Linked DNA regions of Homo sapiens: regions 2 and 3 are each linked to region 1. The links are contacts of gene promoters, found by promoter capture Hi-C in blood cells and fetal thymus (Javierre and others, 2016). All regions are on one chromosome and are shown on one strand. The core of a region is centred on a gene start or on the middle of the fragment in contact, and the rest is flanking DNA. Distances in the headings are between cores, read along the strand shown. Region 1 holds the start of TADA3 (transcriptional adaptor 3). Region 2 overlaps SETD5 (SET domain containing 5). Region 3 holds the start of BRK1 (BRICK1 subunit of SCAR/WAVE actin nucleating complex).

What was found. The method cuts DNA at HindIII sites, captures the fragments that hold promoters and counts their contacts. A CHiCAGO score of 5 or more calls a contact.
Region 2: a contact is called between a fragment that was not itself captured here and the fragment with the promoter of TADA3 in region 1, in 1 of 17 cell types (neutrophils). The highest score is 5.4, in neutrophils.
Region 3: the fragment with the promoter of BRK1 here is called in contact with the fragment with the promoter of TADA3 in region 1 in 12 of 17 cell types (activated CD4 T cells, fetal thymus, non-activated CD4 T cells and 9 more); the score reaches 14.8 in activated CD4 T cells.

What each region holds. Positions count from the first base shown.
Region 1 is chr3:9,790,869-9,794,092 of GRCh38, forward strand. It overlaps TADA3 (transcriptional adaptor 3), which reads right to left and starts at 1,605. Exons shown (of 9, transcript NM_006354.5): 1 at 1,348-1,605; 2 at 392-625. The coding sequence starts at 598. It overlaps ARPC4-TTLL3 (ARPC4-TTLL3 readthrough), which reads left to right and starts at 1,680. Exons shown (of 12, transcript NM_001198793.1): 1 at 1,680-2,256. The coding sequence starts at 2,254. It overlaps ARPC4 (actin related protein 2/3 complex subunit 4), which reads left to right and starts at 2,214. Exons shown (of 6, transcript NM_005718.5): 1 at 2,214-2,256. The coding sequence starts at 2,254. It also overlaps a transcript of OGG1 not described here. RefSeq lists enhancers at 1-432, 1,537-2,063, 1,990-2,089, 2,064-2,590, 2,790-2,879 and silencers at 1,420-1,509, 1,570-1,859. The HindIII fragment of the contact is 10,858 bases long and covers 185-3,224 here.
Region 2 is chr3:9,466,844-9,470,067 of GRCh38, forward strand. All of the region lies in intron 18 of SETD5 (SET domain containing 5), which reads left to right. Among named protein-coding and RNA genes, the nearest start is that of SETD5, 71 kb to the left of the region's middle. The HindIII fragment of the contact is 1,914 bases long and covers 563-2,476 here.
Region 3 is chr3:10,114,045-10,117,268 of GRCh38, forward strand. BRK1 (BRICK1 subunit of SCAR/WAVE actin nucleating complex) reads left to right here and starts at 1,631. Exons shown (of 3, transcript NM_018462.5): 1 at 1,631-1,775. The coding sequence starts at 1,658. RefSeq lists enhancers at 1,439-1,728, 2,179-2,228. The HindIII fragment of the contact is 6,229 bases long and covers 1-3,200 here.

The sequences.
Region 1 (3,224 bases), core at 355-2,854:
CAGGTTTCCCCATTCCAGTTCCCTAGGACTGCTAACCACAACATCACATCACCTGGTATGTACTTGACTTTCTCACTTTCCTAGTTGCCAAGCTCCCTGACAGCCATAACTGTCCTAATTACCTTTCTCTAATGACTAGCATAGGACCCAGAACACAATGGGGGATGAGTGGGGTGCCAATAAAAGCTTACTGAATTAGAAATCTTGCAATTTAAGAGGATCATGCATATTCTTGTGTATTTTTTGTGTCATGCAAACCCAGTTTGCGTCTCTCTCCCTCTCCCCACAAACCCCTGTACCCCAAGTCTCAGCATATGGGGCTAACTCAATGACCCATCCCATAACTTGTTGCAGTCCATCTCTGGTGCTGGCCCCTCTCTGGGGTTATCACCTGGGTTTCGGCCTCAAGCACACGCAGGCGCCGGCTGGCAGAAGACAGCAGGGTCTCCAGCTCCAGCTGCAGGGTGTCCAGCTCCTCGATGCCGATGCCATCATCCTCAGAGCGTGCCAGCACTGCCGTGTAGCGGGGACAGACCTTCAGGTGATCCACAGACTTGAAGTCGTGGAACTGCAAGGGGCAGTCTTTCAACTCACTCATGGCCCAGGATATGGGGATCCTGTGGAGCTGGAGAGGACAGGGCCATTGATGGGAGACAAAGTGGTCTGAGAAAAGCCCAAGGGCTTCTTACCTCCAGGGACAGCCTCAAGGAAGCCCAGCTTCAGTCCCTTACTGACAAAATTGATGGCACAGTTCCTACTCACAGGGCACTTAACTGGGTACCAAGCTAGGTGCAGAGCACTTTATCAGTTTATCTCACTGAATTTCTCACTCAGCACCATGAACAAGGACCATTGTGATCTCGTTTTTACAGAGAAAGAAACTGAGACTCTGTAAGGGTGGGTATGTGCCTATGCTTCCAAGATGCAATTTGAACCCCGCTAGTCTTGAGTCTGCACCCTGATCACCATGCTATACTGCTATGCCTTGCCTCGCCTTTCTGATGCTCTTTCCTTCCCTTCTATTTCTCTTGGGTTCTGCTAAGACTTTGAGTTCCAAGCACCCCATTCTTACCATGTTCTCTGGGACTCTTGGCCTCTTTTCTTACCCTATTCCACCTTTCTCCCTTCTCTAGTCACTAACAGTGGTTTAGAACGTGGGCTGGTAAGCCAGACAGACCTGGGTTCAAGCCCAGGCTTTACCATTCTCTACTTATATGCCCCTGAACATGTTATTTGACCTTTTTCAGTCTCAGTTTTTCCATCTGTAAAATGGGGACAAAAGAAGTCTCGGTCTGTTTCCCCATTAAAAGTCTGAATCTGAAAAATGGGGATAACAATAGTACCTACCTCCCTGGGATGTTCTGAGGATTAAGAGATGATGCCCGTCAAGAGCCCAGTTCAGTGTCTGGCACAGAAGTGGGACTGTTTAATGGCTGGCCCCGCCCGGGGGTCGCCCAAATGTCCCGCCTTCAGAGTCCTCGTTCTCTAGGGACACCCTAGTGCGACCCCCGCCCCCTCTACCTCCTCGCTGCGGCCTCCTACGGCCCCAGGGGCCGCGGGAGGGGGCGGGGAGTTCCGGTCGATGTGAGCAACCGCCCCGGAACTGGCTATGGGCGGGCCCCTTGCAGTTGACGCGGGGGCGGGGAGTCAGCGAGGGCGAGCCTACTGGAGTTTGCCGGGGGTGGGAAGAAGGTGGGCCTCGAGCAAAGCCGCTAGAGGTGGGGTGCGGGTGGTCGGCCTCAGGCGAGCCCCGGGGCACAGCCCGGGGCGGGAGGCGGAGCTTGGCGGCCGAGATCTCCGCGCTGCAGTTAGCCCCGCCGAGCGCCAGGAGCTGCGGGTAGGAGGGGCGAGAGAAAGGATGGGGGTACAGAACCGGAAGAAACGAAGGGCTCGTCCGCTTCGGCTTGTCCTAATTTGGTGCCCAATCTGAAGCTGGGCTGTACCATTGCATACCTGGGGGAGGCTGTGGCAAAGGTGACAAGAAGGCCGAAGGCACAAAGGGAAGCTGCACCCATTCCTGGAGGAGCTTAAATAGTGACTCGAGTGCAAGAATTTAAAAATACCGAGACAGCCCTAGGTGGAAAACTTCCGGAAGGCCCAAGCGTTCGTAAGGGCTCTCTACCCCGCTCGGAGCATAGATGGTACCGTCCGGAAGTCCGGGCGGAGACCGTAGCTGCGCTTCTCGCGAAAGGGCAGGCATCGCGGGGCTGGCCACTTCCGTACTTCCGCTTTCCGGCCCAGCCAGCGCCCGCGATGGTGAGAGAGCCGGGCCCCCGGCCAGGGACCCCCGGCTGTTCGGCCTCAGGGCAGTGGGTCGGTGGGAGATGTGGCTTTGCCGCAGGGGCGCGGGGCCGAGGGATGTCCGGGGGTTGTGGGGACACGATGAGGGTGGGAAAAAGAGACGGGGCGGGGGCCCGAGGTGAGGAAGGGGCGAGTGGGGGTACTCCCTGGTATGAAGTGGGCCTTGTGGCTTCACGGTCAGCCTTCGAAGCAGGTAGGGGCTTTTCCTGAGCCCTGTAGGAACCCGGAAGTGGGGTCTCCTAGGCTCTTTGGAGCATTTCGAGGGTACGTAGTCGGCCTCTTAGCCTCTGAGGCATGAAGCAAGTCCACCTGCCTATCCACAGTGGAACTTCACGACATACGCCCTTTGTCCTCTTCTGCCTTCCTGACCCTACAGTTGCTTAAGGCAGGCGGCCACACTTCCTTATCCCATTCTTGGTACCTCCAGCCCTGCTTCCACCCCATTGGAGGATCTCTCGTGTTGCTTCCATTCAGGCCCTTCCTGGTCAGAACTGAACTGTGTCAGCCTTAGTGTATGTTAGCTGTGATACTGCTCATCCCTCCCTTCCTGGAAGTCCTCCCTTTTTCATACATGTGGGCCTTTTTCATACATGTGGGCCTTTTTCATACGTGTGGGCATTCCTGGGAGTTGTGACTTTGGATGACCATCTCCCTCTTCGTCACACCTTCCCTGGTGATACCGATCTAGTCTCCTGGCTTCGATAACTTTCTTCATTCTGATGACTCCTAATCTGGCTTCTCAGCTCTCTTTCAAGGTTTGCCTGGATATCTTGAAGAGACCTTGAAATTAGACCTCTAGTTCAAAACTCATATTCTATTCTAAATTTGTTCTTCCTCCTGGGTTCCCTATCCTGGCAAACTTTTGTGACCTCATGTCTCTGCTAAAAATCTGTATTTTTTTTTTCTAGTGGGGCACATGCCTC
Region 2 (3,224 bases), core at 270-2,769, 320 kb before region 1:
GTGAGACCACATTTCTGCAAAAATAAAATACAAAACTTAGCCAGGTGTAGTGGCATATACCTGTAGTCCCAGCTACTTGGGAGGCTGAAGCAGGAAGATCACTTAAGACCAGGAGTTTAAGACTGCAGTGAGCCATTATTGTGCCACTACATGCCAGCCTGGGCAACAGTGAGATCCCATCTCTAAAAATAATTTAAAGACCAGCTTAGGCCAGGTACAGTGGCACACACCTGTAATCCCAGCTACTCGGGAGGCCAAGGCAAAGGAATTGCTTGAGCCTGGGAGGTTGCAGGGAGCCAAGACTGCGCCACTGCATTCCACATTCCAGCCTGGGCAACAGAGGGAGACTCTCTCTCAAAAAAAAAAAAAAAAAAAAAAAAACAACCTTACTAGATTAGTTTGGGGAAGGATATTTTTGAGAAGGAAAAAAGCATTCAGGAAAATGGTGAGAAGTCTTAAGTGCTAAGGGGAAGAAGGTAAGAAGATAAACAGTGGAAGAGAACAAGATCTTCAGGAGGGGAAAGCATCTAGAAAGAAGAGTGGAAGCAACATTGGGAGGACAAGCTTAGTTAGCCTCTCCTTTCTACCAGAATAACCCTCCCCTCCTATTCTTGCCCTGAGAGCCATACTCCACCCGCCATTTCACACATACGTGCACCTAGATGTACACCACCCACTGTCCATGCCAAGTAAAATTCACAGCCAAAACCCTGCTTTGCTGAAGCAGCCTCATTTCCCCTACCTCAGCATGTGCCTGCCACCTAGGCCACAGTTATTCAGAGTCTACATTAGGCACCCTCTCCTTACCTCAGCCCTAGCACCCCTGAGTCATTGTCACACTACCACCTTCACTCTCTTCACGTGTTCCCATTTACATCTTTCCATTAAGCACTCACTGCTCAGTCTCTGTTATGGGACTGCTGCCTCACCTGAAAGTCCCAAGGTAAAGTCCTACCCTCTGTAGGATACAGGGACCTAAGTATACACATACATGCTTTTTCTGCTCTGTTGCCAAAAGTACAATGGATTTTACAAAATAACATTAATAGGGGTGGCTCAGGTCTAATTAGATTATGCCAAGAACCAACTCTAGCCTGTGAGCTAGGGATTCCATCAATCACATTTCCTGTAACTGTCATTCAAGAGGAACTGGCCATCTCCCTAACCATGTCAGCCCCCAGCACACTAATGTCTCCCCCTGGATAGCACTGGGAGGGCCTGAGGCATATAAGAGAATAAAGAAATGTGACAAGCAGAAGAGGCATTGGATGAAGGAACAAGGTCCATGTAAGGAGGAATAAGGGGTAGGGTGCCCCTCAATAACAAATACTGTAGGTTGCTAAACTCTCATCTAAAATACAAAGACGTATAACACTAAAATTTCACCAGTCTAACTCTTTCCTTGTATGTGCTTGAGATGTTTACTTACAGCATGAAACATTATAACCAATTTATCCTTAAATGCTTTCAGAGATACCAGGAAGCATTTTAACAAGTCATTCTGTCCATTGAGATGAGTTCTGCAGTTAAATATTTCCCCTATGCATTCTTATTCAACTTCCCCGCCCCCGAAAAAAGTTATGGCTAACATCTATGCTTGCTTTTATTTTTTGTTTTGTTTTGCTTCTTGACTTCGAGTAGATGAATAATAACAAGATGCTTTTCCCTCCTCTAGAACATATCCTCCCCTGAGAGTTCCCCTGCGCATAGGCCCGAGTCCCTGTCACCCGAGGTAGTTATCACACCATCTCAATCACACTTGGAGGCTGAGAGTGAGTGTTCATGAATGTGTTCCTGAGTGTGTGGGGAGGGCTGGGGATCTGAGTCAGTGGGGTGATGGGCTGGAGGGCGGCCACTCAGTCACAGTAAGTTGAATGAGTCTTCCTGTGTGACTGTGACTACACAGGACTGTCAATGTAGATGGAGGAAAATGAAGGTAGGAGCGTGTGTGTTTGTGTGTGTGTGTGTTGTGTGTGTGTTTGGTGGGGTTGGTTTTTGCCGTTTGGGGGAGGGGGTGGCTGGAGTTCTATTAAAGAATAGAATCTAGAAGTCAAGATGCTGATATGTGGTAGGAGCCTTGTTAAAGAAAGGCTAATAAATCAGGAAAGTTGAGTCAAAAGTTGTAAGAGCTGTTTTTTGAGTTGGGTGGTGACTTATGCCTTGTTCTAGGGTTAATCTAACAGCTCTGTAAACCAGATGTTTTGACCTTTGGTTGATAGATTGAGCAGCTTCTTCAGGAAGGGAAAGTCATTCTGTCTTTCAGCTTTCCTACATTTTCTCTGCAGCTCCTTACTGGGTGCACAAGGAAACCAAGTGAGTCCCTGGCTTTCTGTCACAGGCCACCATTCTGCAATGGTTAGGATATGGTTGCTATACAAGTGTTATCTCTTTAGGATATCAGTAGAGTGGTTTTCTCACAAACCCTACTGCTGTGGATATGTCAAACTCAGATTTTAGTGCTAGAGTTTCTATTATAAGCTTTCAGATTTAGTAACATTAACTCTGAATCTATTAATACATGGGACCTTTTTTCTCTTGAAGAGAAAGTTAGAGTCTCTCAGAAATAGTCAACTGAACTTTAACCCTATCCCCTTCCAATAAAAAATTAGGGCATAATTCAGTGACAGTCTACTAAGTTCTGAATCAGTAGTAGTTCACAGGTTAATATGAAACTGAAAAAGGTTTTATTCCACTAGTATATTAGAGATTTTCTTGGTGTTTTGACTCTAGCTTGTTAGGAAAGTAAAGCTCTCTCTCCTCAGTTGTTAAAGATTCTAAGATAACGTAATTTGAAGACTGATATGGTATGGTATCTGGTTTTCTGGTACCATTCTTTGTCGGTTAGCTGTAGTTGACCTAGTGTTGGAAGTTTGGAGGTTATGATAACCAAATAGTAGGTGGGGTTTATTTTTGGTACATTTCAGCATTTCAGAATCTGCAGTGATGAGCATTAGTGGTCTTGTGGTATGTTGACGTACATTAGAGGATAAAGAAGAATTGAGTGGCCAGAAAGTTGTATGAGAAACACAGCTTCTTTAACAGTGAAAGTGAGTGAAGAACTGGTTGGTTGATGTCTTTAATGCCATCCTCCTTTACTGAACCAGTAACTTAAGTACTTGCCTTTCCGTCTACCTTCTCCTTCCTCCACCTTTTTCCCTTCCCCCCACCTTCCATCAATATTAATTTAGAAATTGATAACCCCGGAAGCCAGTTATCTTAAGACA
Region 3 (3,224 bases), core at 381-2,880, 320 kb after region 1:
CAGAACAAGACTGTCTCAAAAAAAAGAGCATTTACTGCATGCCAGATTGTAAGTATTCCCTGAAATGAGAATAAAGTTGTTCATATTCCACTACCTTAGCAAAGCAGATAGTGACTTTTTTTGTAGATCCTTCTTGTCCTCAAACATACATTTTTCCATAGTTGCAATTAAAGAAAAATGTGGGCCAGGCAGGGTGGCTCATGTCTGTAATCCCAGCACTTTGGGAGGCCGAGGTGGGCAGATCACTTGAGGTCAGGAGTTGGAGACCAGCCTGACCAACATGCTGAAACCCCGTCTCTACTAAAAAATACAAAAAATAGCCAGGTGTGGTAGCGGGCACCTGTAATCCCAGCTACTTGGGAGGCTGAGGCAGGAGAATCACTTGAACCCGGGAGGCAGAGGTCACAGTGAGCCAAGATCGTGCCATTGCACTCCAGTCTGGGCATTAACAGAGAAACTCTGTCTTAAAAAAAAAAAGTAAGAAAAGGAAGGAAGGAAGGGAGGGAGGGAGGGTATTTTGTTTTTCCCCTCAATTTATTGTATGTGTTTTCATGTTGCTTGTGTTCATAATTAGCATTTAAATGACTGCATAATAGGCCGGGCATGGTGGCTCATGCGTATAATCCCAGCACTTTGGGAGGCCGAGGTGGGTAGATCACCTGTCAGTTCGAGACCAGCCTGGCCAACATGGTGAAACCCCGTGTCTACAAAAAATACACAAATTAGCCAGGCGTGGTGACGTGAGCCTGTAGTCCCAACTACACCAGAGGCTGAGGCTGGAGGATAGCTTGAGCCCAGGAGTTCAAGCCCAGGAGTTCGAGGCTGCAGTGAGCCATGATCATGCCATTGCATTCCAGCCTGGGCGACAGTAAGACCTTGTCTCAGGCTGGGCGAGGTGGCTCACACCTGTAATCCCAGCACTTTGGGAGGCCGAGGCGGGCGGATTGCCTGAAGTCAGGAGTTCGAGACCAGTCTGGCCAACATGGTGAAACACCATCTCAACTAAAAATACAAAAAAATTAGCCGGGCGTGGTGGTGTGCGCCTGTAATTCCAGCTACTCGGGAGGTTGAGGCAGGAGAATAGCTTGAACCTGGGAGGCGGAGGTTGCAGTGAGCCGAGATCACACCACTGCACTCCAGCCTGGGCGACAGAGCAAGACTCCGTCTCAAAAAAACAAAAAACAAGAAAAAACCTTGTCTCAAAAAACAACACAAAAACACAAATTTCCTTCTGAAAGGGACTGTTCCAGTTTGCAGTGTGCCCAGCTATTTATGACCATATTATTTTTTAGACTCCGTCTAAAAAAAAAAAAGACTTGTATTTAATGTGATTTAATCGACTGTGCCCATCTCACTGCGGACACTGAGTGCGCAACCTGAGCCTGGAGCAGTTGAGGGAGACGGCAAGACCCCACGCGCCGTGTAACGACCATAACGCGCGTGCACTACAACCTCGCCGCCGGCGTCCAGGCTTCTGTGTTCTATAGCGTGGGAGTAGAGAGCAAACGCCGGCGAGGACGTGACGTTGCACAGGCCTATCATAGTGCCCGAGAATTCGTGGGTGCTCAAGAGGATGGGTGTGGCCTGGCAGCGCAGGCGCACTAGAGGCCTGTAGGGTCGGGGCGCCTGCGCAGTCGCTCTTCCTCAGGCGGCGGCCATGGCGGGACAGGAGGATCCGGTGCAGCGGGAGATTCACCAGGACTGGGCTAACCGGGAGTACATTGAGATAATCACCAGCAGCATCAAGAAAATCGCAGACTTTCTCAACTCGTTCGGTCAGCGGGCCAGCAAGGGGAGGCGGGGAGGAGGGAGGCCGCTGAGGTGGTTGGGCTGGGGCGCCGGGGAGATGCTTTGAGAGGACTCCCGCAGCCTTCGGCTGTTGCGGGTTTTCACTTCCTCCTTCAGGTCCCACCTTCTCCCTCCCGCCCTGACCCTCAGGCTCCCGTAGACAGTCTCTGTAGGGTTATCCTGCCCTACGCTGAGCTCATGGCTTCCTGCCATCCCTCTGGATCCATTCTACAAGTCCTTCTCCTAGACGCGTCAGGCAGCCCCATCCTCGCTCCGTGGTTCTTCTCCTAAGTGGTCTCCCTGCCTCCTTTGTACTCTGCATCCATTCCGGTCCCCACTTTGCACTCAAAGTGAGCATCCGGGACCGTGTCACTCCTCTGTTTCAAGACTGTTGACCGTTCCCCATCTTCAGGATCTGGTCGATACCCTCTAGCGTCGTGCCTTTTAGTTGGACCCGTTGTCAACCACTCCCGTCTTGTCCATTCCTTCCTGTTTCCTGTGTCTGCTGCGGTGAGAGTGGTGGGAGATGAGGTCAGAGGGATGCCAGGATCTTGTAGGACCTTGGAAGTCCTCTCTGTATTGCTAGTATATATAGCTTATGGTAGGTGTTCTGTCTGCTTCTAGCCCATTCCTCAGAGCTAACACAGGTCGGGTGCCTTCAGCAGAAAGATATCTTTACCAGAATCTTTCCTAGGCATGGCCTGCTTGTGACAGCCTTAAATTCTTCCTTATGAACAGCAAGCAAAGCAATCGAGATTCCTACCCCTTCTTCTCCAAGTGTTTAACAGAACTTGGCACTGGTTAGACTTTCTTGTGTAATTACAGGATATAGGGACTAGTGTACTTTGGAAAGATTTTTAAATGAATGATTCTCTAACTAAAGGACTGATGGCCTTAGGAGTACAAAGGTGACAGAGCAAGAGATTGTCAGAAAGCATCAGCGAGAGATGCTAGAGCTCCATATGAGGCCCTCTCTTAAGGCATAGTGGGAGACACAGAATAAGAACCACTTCCTACATTCAAAGAAGTTCTAATCTTGAAGATGAAATAATGACAACTTCAGGACAAAGAAGAGCATCATTTTTGTATTAAAGTATTTTCATACAGGGTGTTTAGGACTATAATCGTGGCTGAGTTCAATGGCTTATGTCTGTAATCCCAGCACTTTGGGAGGCCAAGGTGGGAGGATTGCTTGAGCCCAGGAGTTCAAGACCAGCCTGAGCAACATGACCAGATCCTATCTCTACAAAACAACGACAACAAAAAAATTAGTTGGGCATGGTCATGCACACCTGTTGTCCCAGCTACTCGGGAGGCTGAGACAGGAGGATCACTTGAGCCCTGAAGGCAGTGAGCCATGTTCATGCCACTGCACTCCAGCCTAGGCGACTGACTGAAAATTGAAAAGCCTAAGCTTAGGATTTGCAAAGGAGAAA